2 separate regions of the Homo sapiens genome follow, and region 1 is linked to region 2. Evidence: promoter capture Hi-C in human tissues and cell types (Jung and others, 2019). All regions are on one chromosome and are shown on one strand. Each heading gives the region's core, a stretch centred on a gene start or on the middle of the fragment in contact. The rest is flanking DNA. Distances are from core to core; before and after follow the strand shown.

Region 1 (7,441 bases), core at 4,374-6,873, 210 kb after region 2:
ATAACCCGAAGCTTCAAATGTAAGGCCTTTTCATACTTTATTACTGGCCTGTCCATTACATACTACTGTTTTAGAAGCCCTAAATATGGAATCGGGAAAAGCCTTGGAAGTTTTCCATACGTATACGCTAGGTTAAATGAAAAAAATACTTTACACGGAAACAAGGAGCCAATAACTTATAAATTGGCTCTCTAACCCTAACTGGTTACAAGAAAGGCTCCAAAAGGCAAAGAAACCAACTTGCAAATCTAGTCCTCATTTTTGGAGGGAAGATATCTGCTCTGAAAAGATAGGGGCACCATGAGAAAACAAATCCATCTTGTAAAATTTATAAATCCTTTTTAGTTCAGTTTCCATAACTTTAATAAAAGATCAGTTCTATTCACAGAAAAGCAAAATGTCATTACCAAATTGCCACTTTATTAACCAAGATGTTACCATGCATCAATTCTTTCAAAACTGGTCCCTTAACAGAGATGCTTAACTGTACAGCTGGACCTCTCCCACTCTCCACAGGACCCGGAGGAAGTTGTTCACTATTACTGAATACCTACTAGTAGCAGGGAGTAAACAGTATTAGTTTTCAGAAGCCAAAGGTAGTGTTTTTGTTTTTTGTTTTTTTGAGATGGGGTCTCGCTCTGTCATGCAGGCTGGAGTGCAGTGGTGTTATCTTGGCACTGCAACCTCCACCTCCCGGGTTCAAGTGATTCTCCTGCTGGGATTACAGGTGCACTCCACCATGACTGGCTAATTTTTGTATTTTTAGTAGAGACAGGGTTTCACCATGTTGGCCAGGCTGGTCTTGAACTCCCGACCTCAGGTGATCTGCCTGCCTCAGTCTCCCAAAGTGCTAAGACAACAGGTATGAGCCAACACGACTGGCGACTGTAGTTTTCAACAAAATACTTACATATTACAGTTCTATAATGTTAAGACGTTTATTTTGTGCTTCTCAAATACTACATTTCAAACATGTCTGGCTCTCTATGGGGGGAAGGCAAAACACATTCCTATTTTATAAAACTAGGATCCTTTTACAATTGGAAAGTTTAAAAACTTTTTTTTTTGGAGACAGGGGCTGTCACCGTTTGGAGGGTTGTGGCGCCACCTCAGCTCCCTGCAGCCTTGACCTTGCAAGTAATTCTCCCACCTTAGGCCTCCGAGTAGCTGGGACTACAGGGACATGCTACCACCCTGGGATAACTTCTGCATTTTTTGTAGAGATGGAATTTTGCCATGTTTCCCAGGCTGGTCTCAAGTCATCCTCCCATCTCAGTACCTCAGCTTCCCAGTGTTGGGATTACAGGAGTGAGCCACCATGCATGGCACAAAGATGGCTTTTATTTACTTATCTATATTTATATATACATATTTATATGTAGCTGTCACCCAAGCTGTAGTGTACTGATGCAATCATAGCTCACTGCCACCTTAATCTCCCCAGCTCAAAAAACCCAACCTCAGTCTCAAAGATGGTTACTTCACCACAAAAAAATTAAAATGTTTAAGTTTCTCATTAAAGAGTAGAAGTGTACATTCAGAAACAATTATGGGAGGTAATTCATTAATATTAAATATGCCAACGGTATTTTAAAGGTTATTGGAGAATTAGAAGGGGGTGGGGTGCAGGACGAAAAATTAATGGGTGCAATGTACACCATTCAGGTAATGGCTGCACAAAAAGCTCAGACTCCAAACTACTTCATATACCTATGCAACAGAACTGCACTTATACCCCCCAAATCTATACTGAGGGAAGTGACTAAGATGTTGCTATACAGGTTTTATACCATTTATCATATAAAAATTATAACCTTGGTAAAAGGAATTTATAAGCTAGTACTCAACAGGAGAAAAGATTTAGCTCTAAACCTTCACCCAGATATAAATTCAGCTTTAGAATTCTTGCCAATTTAGTCCTAGACAGACTGGTCTGCTCAGTCATTTCTCTTAACATAGCATATTGCTTAGTTATTACATGTACTAGTATTAGGATGACTTTTTTGTTCACAAAGATGAAAGCAAACTGAATAAAAAAGGTGAAACCTTTATCTGTAAGGGGGAATTTGATTGCTATTTGGTATTAAAGAGTTTTAAGATTCAACCACCTGGTACAACAGCAGGCTCTGAAGGGGAAGCCAGACAGGGAACCTAGAGGTACAAGCAATGTCTCCCCAGCTGTCAGCCTCAATGAGAATCACCACCCATAAATAAGCTAATTATTGACAAGATTATAATCTTTCGAATATGTTCAAAACAGGTCTGACTAGTGACTATGAGAATGGAGCTATTTAGAGTTGATTTAAAAGAAAACACTTTATTGTTCAGCAATTAAAAGTTAGCCAAATATGTATTTTTCTCCATAATTTATTGTGATGTTATCAACATCAAGTAAAATGCTCATTTTCATCATTTGCTTCTGTTCATGTTTTCTTGAACACGTCTTCAATTTTCCTTCCAAAATGCTGCATGCCACACCTCCAAAACAAAGTCAGAAACCACAGTGAAAATCATTCCATACTCAAAGTTCTCATATAACCTCAATATTCACAAGTGCCCCTCAAAAAACTAATGTTGAGAATACCACACATGCAAAAGCAACTTCAACAAGAATCTGCCCCCACCCTTAAGTTTATCAGATACTTTCTGAACTGTCAGCAGACATAGTTGCTTGACAAATCACTTACTTGAGGTAACGAAGCAGAAGTATTTTTAAACATGACAGCTAAGAACATTCATCTACAGCAACCTATATGCTAAAAACAAAGAATATTCACCCTTAATTAAATTATTGCCTTACATACATGTCAGTAATTAATCAATGTACAGTACTGGCATCTCAGTCTTAAAATTATTTCTTCAAAGACAACCTCAGCTGGGTAAACGGCAAAAAGTAATTTAAGTCATCATTGTGCCAGCTATTAAACCTATCTGTCAAGAATACATCACATAACTAACATTAATTAAATTTAGGTACCTCAATACATGCCGCGTGATCCTAGTAGTTTTTTCACAACCTTCTACAAGTTTTTGGAAAACATCTGTTATGATGACTTTCATACACCTTCACCTCAAAGGCTTTCTTGCACCTGGAAATTAAATATTACATTTCGAATTCCCATTTTTATTTGCATTTTGTTGGGCATCTTATATGTAGGAATGGTCCAAGAAGAGAATCTCATTCCTTTAGGAACTGTACTTGCAACCTACCTTTCAGACTCCCAAACCACTTTTTAATAAAAAAGTACTATTATTCTATTACCTGTTTCTGCTTTTTTGATAGTCAGTACTGACAAACCCAAACCTCTGTAACTGAGTATGTTTGTCTCATTAGTACCTAGTATTTCCACAAATGAGCTTATTCCAAACTGGAAACAGGAGCCATTAGCACTGGCAGGAAAATGGTGGAAACATTTCATGATATCCTTCACTGTGGCAGTTTTGATTTTAAGACATAATGGTCATAGTGAGTACACAGCCGTTGCTTTTCTGTCTCACAGCTCGACAAGGATGAGCTATGAGCCAGGTTAGATGTATAAAAACTAACGTGAAGACCTTCACCTAAAAACATTATAACGGCAAACCTAGCAGTTTCAGAGCAGGGATACCTATATTGGCATTTTTACTGGACACATTCCTGTAAAATTAAGTCCCAAGTTAACTAAAAACTGCAAAGAACATGGACTGGGGCAAAAAATCATGTCATACAGCAGCCCAGGAGAATAAATCATTGAGCCAGGCAGCAATACGAAATGATTTATGAAGACATACAAGGTTGGAGCTTGCAAAAACAATCATTTTCATGTGCTGAAATGCTGAAAATGTTTCACACAATCAGTATTAGGAATATAAACTACTGGTTTTGAATAATTCAAAAAAAATTAACTGAAACAAAAAAAGTTTCAGTTTAATATTATGATTCACAGGAACTACAGACAACTACATGCATAATCCTGTCTTTACAAAGCTTAAAAAATGGGCCGGACACGGTGTCTCCCGCCTGTAATCCTAGCACTTTGTGGGGTCGGGGCGGGTGGATCACCTGAGGTCAGGAGTTCTAGACCAGCCTGGCCAAACCCCATCTCCACTAAAAATACAATAATTAACTGGGCATGATGGTGGGTGCCTGTAATCCTAGCTACTCGGGAGGCTGAGGAAGGAGAATCGCTTGAACCTGGGAGATGGAGGTTGCAGTGTGCTGACATCGCGCCACTGCACTCCAGCCTGCACGACAGGAATGAGAATCCATCTCAAAAAAGCAACAAAAAACCCCACAAAGCTATCCACACCACCCCCCTCCCCCACAAAACCCAAAAGACTGATGGGCACAAAATTCCAAATGGTGGGTACCTATGAATAGGAAGCAGGGAAATGTAAACAATAGATACCCTAGTATTGGTAATATTATAGTTCTCAAATGTATCGGTGGATTCTTTTGTATTATGCTTCAGAACTTTCCTGCACTACCAATTTTATCAATTATTTAGTTTGAAAATTTTTAGAAGTCCCAGCACTTACCAGTGAAAACAGAATTCAAGCTACTGAAGCCTCAAAAATAATAATACCTAAAATATTTCAAGGATAAGCCATGACATTCGTCTTCTTGACAGTTAATGATTATTTCAGACGAAGCAATGCATTTCAAATTTGAAGAAAAAAAAAAACCTATACGAAGTCTCACTGATGAAATTTTAAAATTTGTTTCTATGGCCGGGCGCGGTAACTCACGCCTATAATCCCAGCACTTTGAGAGGCCTAGGCGGGTGGATCACGAGTGGTCAGGCTGGTCAGGAGTTCAAGACCAGCCTGGCCAGATGGTGAAACCCCGTCTCTACTAGAAATACAAAAATTAGCCGGGCGTGGTGGCAGGCGCCTGTAATCCCAGCTACTCGGGAGGCTGAGGCAGAGAACTGCTTGAACCCCGGGAGGTGGAGGATTCAGTGAGCCAAGATCGCGTCACTGCACTCCACCCTGGGCGACAGAACAGACTCTGGCTCAAAAAAAAAAAAAAAAAAGTTTCTGAATAGCTAACAGGTTTTCCCAGCCTCCCAGTTGCTGACCGGTTTCTTCTGTATTATGTCCAGAAATACACATCTCTATGTAAATACAAGCATCTCCGTGTGTAGCAGGCATTTAGCCTAAGGGCCTCCTATACTTGCACGTGTTGTTCTCCAACCTCCATGCCTTGACTTTAGCGCGTATTACGAAGGAAGGTCCAGGAACAAATACTGACTAGCTCTACGAATGGGTCGAGACTAGTAATGACTCAGTAAACTGCGCTCATTACAGTTTCAAAGCCACTCACAAAGTACGGTTAACTAAGGGTCGTCCTGACACCTAAGGGATAATCACCTTCCTATTTATAAAACGCTCCCTTTTAAGGAAAACAAGCTGCCTAAGAGCCTGAAACCGCCAAGGCCGCACGCACAACTTTGCTGGGGACACAAGAGAGATCTGGCCAAGACCGGGTGGAGCACGAAGCCTCCCGACGGTCCCTTGCAGGCACCTCCTTAAGTCAGAAGGCCCTTGCCCAGTTTCTGAGCAGAGGACAGCGAACCGGTGTTGACGGAGAAAGGTCAGCTAAGCCTTCCAGGTGGTTACTCACAAAACGCGACTGCGCAAATGGCTTGTGGGGAAAGCTCGTGGGCCTTGGGGGCACCGGGAGCGTAGCCTTTTGGCCTACGCAGCAGCCGCCCGCTCCGCTGCGCCCGGGGAAGGGACAGGGGCCGCGCTGGGCACCCATATGGCGGAGGAACCCGGCACGTAGAGGAGTTGGACCTAAGACCGCGATCACTCTCACCTCGCAGAGCCCAGCTACGGGCCCGCAGTCTCCGCCGCCGCCACCACACCGGCATGACTAACGGCTCTTCGCGCTTCTTCCTCCCTCGCCGGTCGCGCGGGAAAGGAAGAGCGACATCGGAAGACAGCTCTTAGGCACTCCGGTGGCCCCGCCTCTTCCGGTACGCGGCCCCGCCCCTCCGCGGGTGCGAAGGGGGGCTGAGTGCACCGGCTCTGGGGAGGGGGCGGAGGGGAGATGAGACCCGCACCTTAGCCCTCTTCCCTGGTTGCGCGGTGCGGCGACGCTGTGTGCCACACAGCAAGTTTATGTGGGGGCTTTGTGACTTCCCGCAGGGGCTTTTCAGGCTCAGGAGTAACTCTGCTAGAGCTAGTCAATGTTTAATTTACCAGTTTGCAGTGGATGCAAACGAGCAGAATATGCCCTAAAAGGCCGGGCGCGGTGGCTCAAGCCTGTAATCCCAGCCCTTTGGGAGGCCTAGGCGGGAGGATCACCCGATGTCAGGAGTTCGAGACCAGCCTGGCCAACATGGTGAAACCCCCATCTCTACTAAAAATACAAAAAAATTGGCCGATTGTGGTGACGCGTGCCTGTAGTCCCAGCTACCCGGAAGCTGAGGCACGAGAAATCGCTTGAACCCGGGCAGCGGAGGTTGCAGTGAGCCAAGATCGCGCCACTGCACTCTAGCCTGGGTAAGGCTCCGTCTCAAAACAAACAAACAAACCAAAAAACATATATATAGCATTCATAAAGCAGTTACCTACCTTGTTTATGAACATGTTATAATTTGCTGTTGATTTTCACGTCTTATTACTTCTGTTTTTCTCATTGTATTATAGAATCCTGACTGCAAAGCACTGGGCTTGATGCTGGAGCAGAAAGGCTTATGATCTTGTTGCCAGAAAGAATACACATGAAAGCATATGATTAAACAATCTACTCACTTAAAGATAGGTCATCTCTCCTTAATATTTTTGGCTTTTGTTTTGTTTTGAGGCGGAGTCTCTCTCTGTCGCCCAGGCTGGAGTGCAGTGGCTCGATTTCAGCTCACTGCAAGCTCCGCCTCCCGGGTTCACGCCATTCTTCTGCCTCAGCCTCTCGAGTAGCTGGGACTACAGACGCCCGCCACCACGCCCAGCTAATTTTGTTGTATTTTCAGTAGATCCGGGGTTTCACCGTGTTAGCCAGGATGGACTCCATCTCCTTACCTCGTGATCTGCCTGCCTCGGCCTCCCAAAGTGCTGGAATTACAGGTGTGAGCCACTGCGCCCGGCCAATTTGTTTTTGTGTTTTGGTTGGTTGGTTTTGTTTTTAGAGACAGGGTCTCCCTCTGTTGCTCAGCCTGGAGTGCAGTAGTGCAGTCATGGCTCATAGCAGCTTCCATCTTCTAGGATCCTCAAGAGATTCTCCCACCTCAGTCTTGAGTAGCTAAATGCTCACCACCATGCCCTGCTAATTTTTAAAACGTTTCGTAGAAATGCGGGGGTCTCACTATGTTGGCCAGGCTGGCCTCCAACTCCTGGCCTTAAGCTATCCTCTCGACTTGGCTTCTCAAAGTGCTGGGATTACAGGCATGAGCCACAGCGCCTGGCCAATCTCTCCTTTAGACACCGGAAATCTAAGAAACGAATACAAAATCCGGTA
Region 2 (6,754 bases), core at 2,693-5,192:
TACAGGCACCCACCACCACATCTGGCTAATTTTGTATTTTAGTAGCTACAAGATTTCACCATGTTGGCAGGGCTGGTCTTGAACTCCTGACCTCAGGTGATCTGCCTGCCTCAGCCTCCCAAAGTGCTGGGATTACAGGCATGAGCCACGGTGCCTGGCAAAAAACAAGCATTCTAATGAATACCAGCCCTCACTAATGGAAGTGGTATTTCTTGTATTTTTATGCCCCTCACTTCTTCCAAGGTTCTGATAAAAGAACTACAAATAATAGAGGGCTTTATTATGATATAAAAAAGTAATAATGCTTCCACATAAGGCACCATTTTAGAGAAAAGGTTTCCCATTTTGAATAGTGGAGGATGAAAACCAAGCATTCATTTCATTGGAATATATGATCTAAAATAATCGTAATAACCACATTATGTGGCTGGGTAGTTGGGGTTTTTTTGTTTGTTTTTTGAGACGGAATCTCACACTGTCGCCCGGGGCTGGAGTGCAATGGCGTGATCTCAGCTCACTGCTACCTCCACCTCCCAGGTTCAAGTGATTCTCCTGCCTCAGCCTCCCAAGTAGCTGGGATTACAGGTGCCCACCACCACACCTGGCTAATTTTTTGTATTTTTAGTAGACACGGGGTTTCATTATGTTGGCCAGGCTGATCTCAAACTCCTGACCTCGTGATCCATCCGGCTTGACCTCCCAAAGTGCTGGGATTACAGGCGTGAGCCACCGCCAAAATTTCTAAAATCTGGCCATTTTAATACTATTACAAATAAAACATATATAATATTGGCATTTTAATATATGTTTTAGAGCTAATAATGATGAAGATAGCAGTCACTTGGTATTATGTTCCAGGCATTCTACTAAATTCATTTGATCCTCATAGCAATTTCATGAGATTAGCACTATTATCTCCGTTTTACTGAAGAGGAAAAAGCACTATTATCCCCAGGTTACTGATGAAACCGGTGCTCAGAGAAGTGAAACAATTTGCCCAAAGTAGGAAGTGGCAAACCAGGAGTTAAACCTGGGTCTGTCCAATTCCAAAGCTTGTGTTCAAAATCTCTACACTATAGATAAAACAGATGAACAAAATATTTGCTCTATCTGAATGAACAGAATCATATTTTCAAAGAAAGTATTGGGACCCATAGTCTGATAAAAAGCTCTATTTTTAAAATTTATTTACATGAAATATTTCATAAAGGTATAAACATCAGCTAGACATTTAGCTGAACATTCAACAACTTTTTTTTTTACAGTCTAAACTTGGAAACATAACAGAAAATGGGGATATAACCTATATCTCTATCAATAGGTGAACACAATTAATCAAAGTGATCAGCCTTAGCCAGGTGCGGTGGCTGAAGCCTGTAATCCCAGCACTTTGGGAGGCTGAAGCAGGTGGATCATTTGAGGTCAGGAGTTCAAGACCAGCCTGGCCAACATGGTGAAACCCTGTCTCTACTAAAAATACAAAAATTAGCCGGGCGTGGTGGCGCACACTTGTAATCCCAGCTACTGGGGAGGCTGAGGCAGGAGAATTGCTTGAGCCTGGGAGGCAGAGGTTGCGGTCAGCCGAGATCACGCCACTGCACTCCAGTCTGGGTGACAGAGTGAGACCCTGTCTCAAAAAAAAAAAAAAAAACCAAAACAACAACAACAACAACAACAAAGTGATCAGCCTTAAAATTTGCCCTTAAAACCAATTTTAGACTGGGCATGGTGGCTCACGCCTGTAATCCCAGCACTTTGGGAGGCCAAGGCGGGTGGCTCACCTGAGGTCAGGCGTTCAAGACCATCCTGGCCAACATGGCGAAAATCTGTCTCTACTAAAGATACAAAACATTAGCTGGGCGTGGTGGCAGGCACCTGTAATCACAGCTACTCGGGAGGCTGACGCAGGAGAATCGCTTGAAACCGGAAGTTGGAGGAGGTTGGAATGACCTGAGATTGTGCCATTGCACTCCAGCCTGGGCAACAAAAGTGAGACTCCATCTCAAAAAAAAAAAAAAAAAAAAAAACTAATTTAATTACAGTGAAAAAGTCCTTAGTAGTTTGTGAATATATTTACCTCCTCTAGCTTTTTGCAAAATCTAGCTATTAAATTGCAGCTCTCAGATTGTAAAGGCAAAATGCCTAACATGTTGTCTGTTGATCAAATGAACCCAGCCTGGGCAACACAGTGAGACCGTCTCGTCTCAAAAAAAAAAAGAAAATACATAAAATGTTTGTGGGAGGTGATCTCTGTGTGTGTGTGTGTGTGTGTGTGTGTGTGTGTGTGTGTGTGTGTTCTTCACAATAGGACAAATTTATCTAGAAATGTAATGGTTCCCAGATGTTTATTTTTTTAAAAAGTCAAGATGTGGTGATAGCCAGGTATTTGTCTCTAAAGTGAGAATGATGTTATTCCACTTGGAGTTTATTGACACAGAACTTCCTTTTGTCTGAGAAATCTTCAGCACTGTGAATATGGCTTTAATTAAGAGATACACTCATCACTTGTTGATTTTGTTACAAGGGAAGAACTCCTCTAATGTATGTGGATTGCTTTGTGGACCACAGTAAAACATATAAAGGACCACCGGCAATGTATTGTTTTGTATCTACTGCATTCTTATATTCATTTCTGAAAACTACTGTTTAGAAAGTTCTGTAGGATTACTGAAGTACAAAAAGTATTTGGATTCACAATCCACTTTTTAAAGAGAGGCCACATTGTGGTTATTGACATTAAAAATGAATGTCCTAACCCATACTTGTGGGGCTAAATCTTTGAATATCATTTTAAAACATGAGGAAATGTCTTCTGAATTTAGGGAAGTCACACATAGATCCCAGTTCCTCTAATAACCTTTGGCAGTTTATTTGTTCATAGATTTGTGGCAAATTCTCTGGAATCATATGATCTAAAGTACAAATCATTGTCTCAAAATCTAAGGCATGATATGCACATGGGAATCTTTAAGTACTTGTCTGAGTCTATCTTCAAGTGATATCTGATAAGACCTAAATTACAGTAGTGTTGTGGGACGAAGAAAACAACCCACTCTACTTCAAAATCTTAACCACTTGACTCCACATCCATTGAACCATGTAATTCTTAGTTCTCCACTCAGCTTCTCTATCTGTTAAAAGAGATAAACAGATCTAAAACGCAGCTTCTGTAATTCAAGAATGAGTAATAAGGAGCTGTAAAGTGTGCACTCAGCTGACTTGGAGATTAATGGGAATAAAAAAAAGAGTCAGTAGATCTAAAAAGATGTGTGGAAAGGAAATTTCTCTGCACACAGGATCTGCCAATTTGTGAAAGTTCTCGACTGTTTATAAACACAAGGGCCGTAACTCTGCTAATGACAAAAGTGGAAAACTGTCCAAATAATGCTAAATGAATCACAGTTGTTCTCAATTATTTGGATATTTAATTCACTCCTCTGAGTTTCCAGTTTACACCAAGCCAACCCCCCCAACACCACGGGCCCACCCGGGGGGTCCTGATCCCTGCACACACCAGGTCATCTCTGTTGGGCCCCGGCGCTCTGGCCCGCGCCGGTCTTGGGCCCCAGGGTAGCGGCCACTGCGGGCGGAGCAGAGGGAAACACCAGAGTCTGTGACTCCAGACAGGACCCACTGTGTCCTCTTGAACTTTGCACAGCGCGTGACGGGGGCAGACGGTGCACCGTGGCCCGGCCTTTCGCGGGGGTCCTCGGGGAAGAGAGAGGAGCGCGGGTTTCCTCGGAGGCCTGAGCGGGACGCAGCCTGCAGCCCCTCCCCGCACGGGCTGCCCCCGGCCCGCCGCTCGCGCCGCTCTGCTGGGATCCGGCGCCTTCCCCGGCTGTCCTCGGCCTCCCGCGCGCTCCGCGGGAGGAGCCGCCAGCGGCCGTGACGCGTCAAGGAGGAAACGCCGGCGCCCGGCGGCCCTGCCGGGAAGGAGGAAGCGCAGTGCGTTCGGCTCCGCGCCCGCCGCGCCGGGAGCAGCACCGCGGGGCCAGGTAGGTGCGGGGCCGGCGGGAGGGTCCGCGCGCCCGGGACTCCGACGGCGGCCCGGGGCGGGAGGAGACGGGGCGGGGCGAGGGCTGCCCGGGCCTCGGCCGCTGCCTGTCCTCGGAAAAAGCCGTACCTCCGCCCAGCCCCCGGCTCCCGGAGAGTTTGTGGTCTTTGTTTCCACGAGGTGAATTCAGATCCTGCCTCGAGATTCCTAAACGCCCAAGGGGCGTCGGTGGCTGGACCTTGTTAACCCCCACGCAGCCGCCGAGCCTGGAGGAACTGGGAACGCCGAGCAGGGAGACCCTATCTGAGGTCGAAAGTGGGTGCAGGTCACCTGCGAGGGTCGGGGAGGGGGCAGCCGCCAGAGTGGGGTGGATGGAATCGTTTAACCTGTTGTCAGCGGATCTGTAGTAAAAGACCTTAATACGTTGCGTCTTTTAAGTTCTCTGTAATTTGAACCCTTACGTCTCTTCAAGTGAATCTGGCCCTATTAATTCTCACAGTTTTAGCTTTGGAATGTACCCACAAGAAGTGCTTTGAGATTTTTAGATTCTGTCATTTTTAGTCATCGTTACTTGGAAAGAGAAAAGAGAAAGGAATCATCTCTTGAAACTTAAAACGCTTTCATTGAGTTGTGCACAGTGACTTCTGAACCATGAGTAGAATTTCAGTCCTGCACCAGAGACTACTTAGTGTGCACTTGGGTGCAAAATAAATACAGAGCACTGTAATTTCTAAATCTTTTGTCAAAGTGAAAAATAGACTGTTGTGTATTTTGATTCTCTCCCTTCTCACCAGATTGAGACTTCACCCAGCCAATCTGGGAGGTGCCTTTTTTTATTTACCAAACACTTACATAGCCCTTACTATGCGCTGGGCTCTTTCTAAGTTCTTTATAAATATTAAATCAAATTCTTAACTTATCATATTATAGCGGTTCTAGCAATGAAGAGGCTATCCATACTTTAGTTCCCCAAATGTCATTGGAAGAGCTGTAAACATTAGAGGAAGTTTTAGGCATGTTTTAGCACCGGGTGTGCCTTCTGGTCCCCTTGGCTACCACTTCTGTAAGACAAGCCACCACCCCAGCATTTCCCTGGGGTAAGGGAGCCTGGAGCTCCTGGGAATGCGACCTGTTCAAAGCAGATGTTGGCCAGAACCTGAATGACTTGTGTAACATGGTCTCTTTCAACTGCCGTTGTGCCCATCGGCTAACTCTGGAGACACCAGAACTTCCCCTTCTTTAACTGCCACTGCATGGAGCCTACTTTTGTTTTTGAAAAGAGCTTTGTTCCTGATCTGTTCGACACTGTTTATATGACATTATTTATATGACATAGTTTAGATATGAGGGTCAGATTGAACTTGAAATGTACTATAAAATAGAACATTTTTGTTTGCACACATCAACATAACAAATAACGTTTTGTAATTTTACTGCTATTTGCTCTTGGAAACATTGAATTGGTAGGTCAGCCTCATAGGTGTACCTTTTGTGATTTGCAGATATGCAGAGAATATTTTTTCAGAATAACATGCCCTCTTCAAATGTGCACCATTAGAGACCCAATGTGGTGACTAAGATAGACATGATTCTTGTTATTGTGACTATGAATGTAATGTCAAAATCTGCACATCAGACTAGCTTTCTGACTCCCTCACTCCCTTTCTGTGCCCCCCTCCCTTATCTCTCTCTCATATATTTAACTTTTCAGAGAGATGATTAAGTGAGCCGATAAGCCTTATTTAATAGGATTATGAAGTGTCTCTTGAAGCAAGAAGGCTCATGTTCCTCTGATATATTAATAATTTATGACACAACAGGCATTAGTGTCATTTGTGAATTCAGTTTAGTCGGATGACCCCTAGCATTTTCATGGCTTACAAAGTGCTTCCAGACATACTCCTTTACCTTTCAGAGAGATCTTGTATGGTTGATCTCTTAATTACTTTTTATTACCTGTTTTTACAGATGAAGAAACTGAGGCATGGAAATGTTAAAGTGCTTTAGCCTGGATTGCACAGCAGGTGAGAGGCAGAGCTTGAATGGAGGGCAGGTGTGTGGACAGTGCCTGGCACGTGCAGGCCTGTAATAAACATCTGTGGAATGAATGACTCCAAATGGCTTCAGATATCTTGCTCTTTCAAAACATGTCTCTCAAAATACCGTAGTAATTGATTTATGCCTGAGAGATTTCCAGGCCTAATCCAATGCCTCTCTCATTTCAGACAGTATCTAATACAGCACATTTTCTACAAAAAGGATGGGAATCCCTTTGGACTTATTTCTTAAGATTTGCCACCTCTGGTTTTTGAAAAAGAAAATAGGTTGGGTATTTTTTTCATCCTACCTTTTTTCTCTAGTTTTGAGAGTTTAGAACGGACACATGGTATTTATGTTTATGTTGACAGCTTGCTTTCTTTCTTTCTTTCTTTGTTTTTTTTTTGAGACAGAGTCTTGCTCTGTTGCCCAGGCTGGAGTGCAATGGCGCAGCCTAGGCTCACTGCAACCTCCGCCTCCCGGGTTCAAGCGATTCTCCTGCCTCAGCCTCCCGAGTAGCTGGGGCTACAGGTGCATGCCCCCATACCTGGCTAATTTTTGTGTTTTTAGTAGAGACAGGGTTTCACCATGTTGGCCAGGCTATTATCAAACCCCTGACATGATCAGCCTGCCTTGGCCTCCCAAAGTGTTGGGATTACAGGCGTGAGCCACCGTGCCTGGCCACAGCTTTCTTATCTTTCTAAACTACTTAGATTTATGATC

What was found. The method cuts DNA at HindIII sites, captures the fragments that hold promoters and counts their contacts. A contact is called where the count stands out against the background at its distance.
Region 1: a contact is called between a fragment that was not itself captured here and the fragment with the promoter of SGK3 in region 2, in 1 of the 25 tissues and cell types used here (thymus).

Annotation. Positions count from the first base shown.
Region 1 is chr8:66,919,637-66,927,077 of GRCh38, forward strand. It overlaps SNHG6 (small nucleolar RNA host gene 6), which reads right to left and starts at 5,905. Exons shown (of 4, transcript NR_152600.1): 1 at 5,801-5,905; 2 at 2,978-3,089; 3 at 2,688-2,749; 4 at 2,054-2,478. MCMDC2 (minichromosome maintenance domain containing 2) reads left to right here. Exons shown (of 15, transcript NM_173518.5): 15 at 1-2,412. SNORD87 (small nucleolar RNA, C/D box 87) reads right to left here and starts at 2,913; the gene lies at 2,838-2,913. RefSeq lists an enhancer at 5,685-6,884 and a silencer at 5,877-6,076. The HindIII fragment of the contact is 7,268 bases long and covers 1,990-7,441 here.
Region 2 is chr8:66,708,839-66,715,592 of GRCh38, forward strand. SGK3 (serum/glucocorticoid regulated kinase family member 3) reads left to right here and starts at 3,943. Exons shown (of 17, transcript NM_001033578.3): 1 at 3,943-3,995. The region is part of intron 3 of C8orf44-SGK3 (C8orf44-SGK3 readthrough); the gene reads left to right. RefSeq lists a silencer at 3,652-4,121. The HindIII fragment of the contact is 13,282 bases long and covers 1-6,754 here.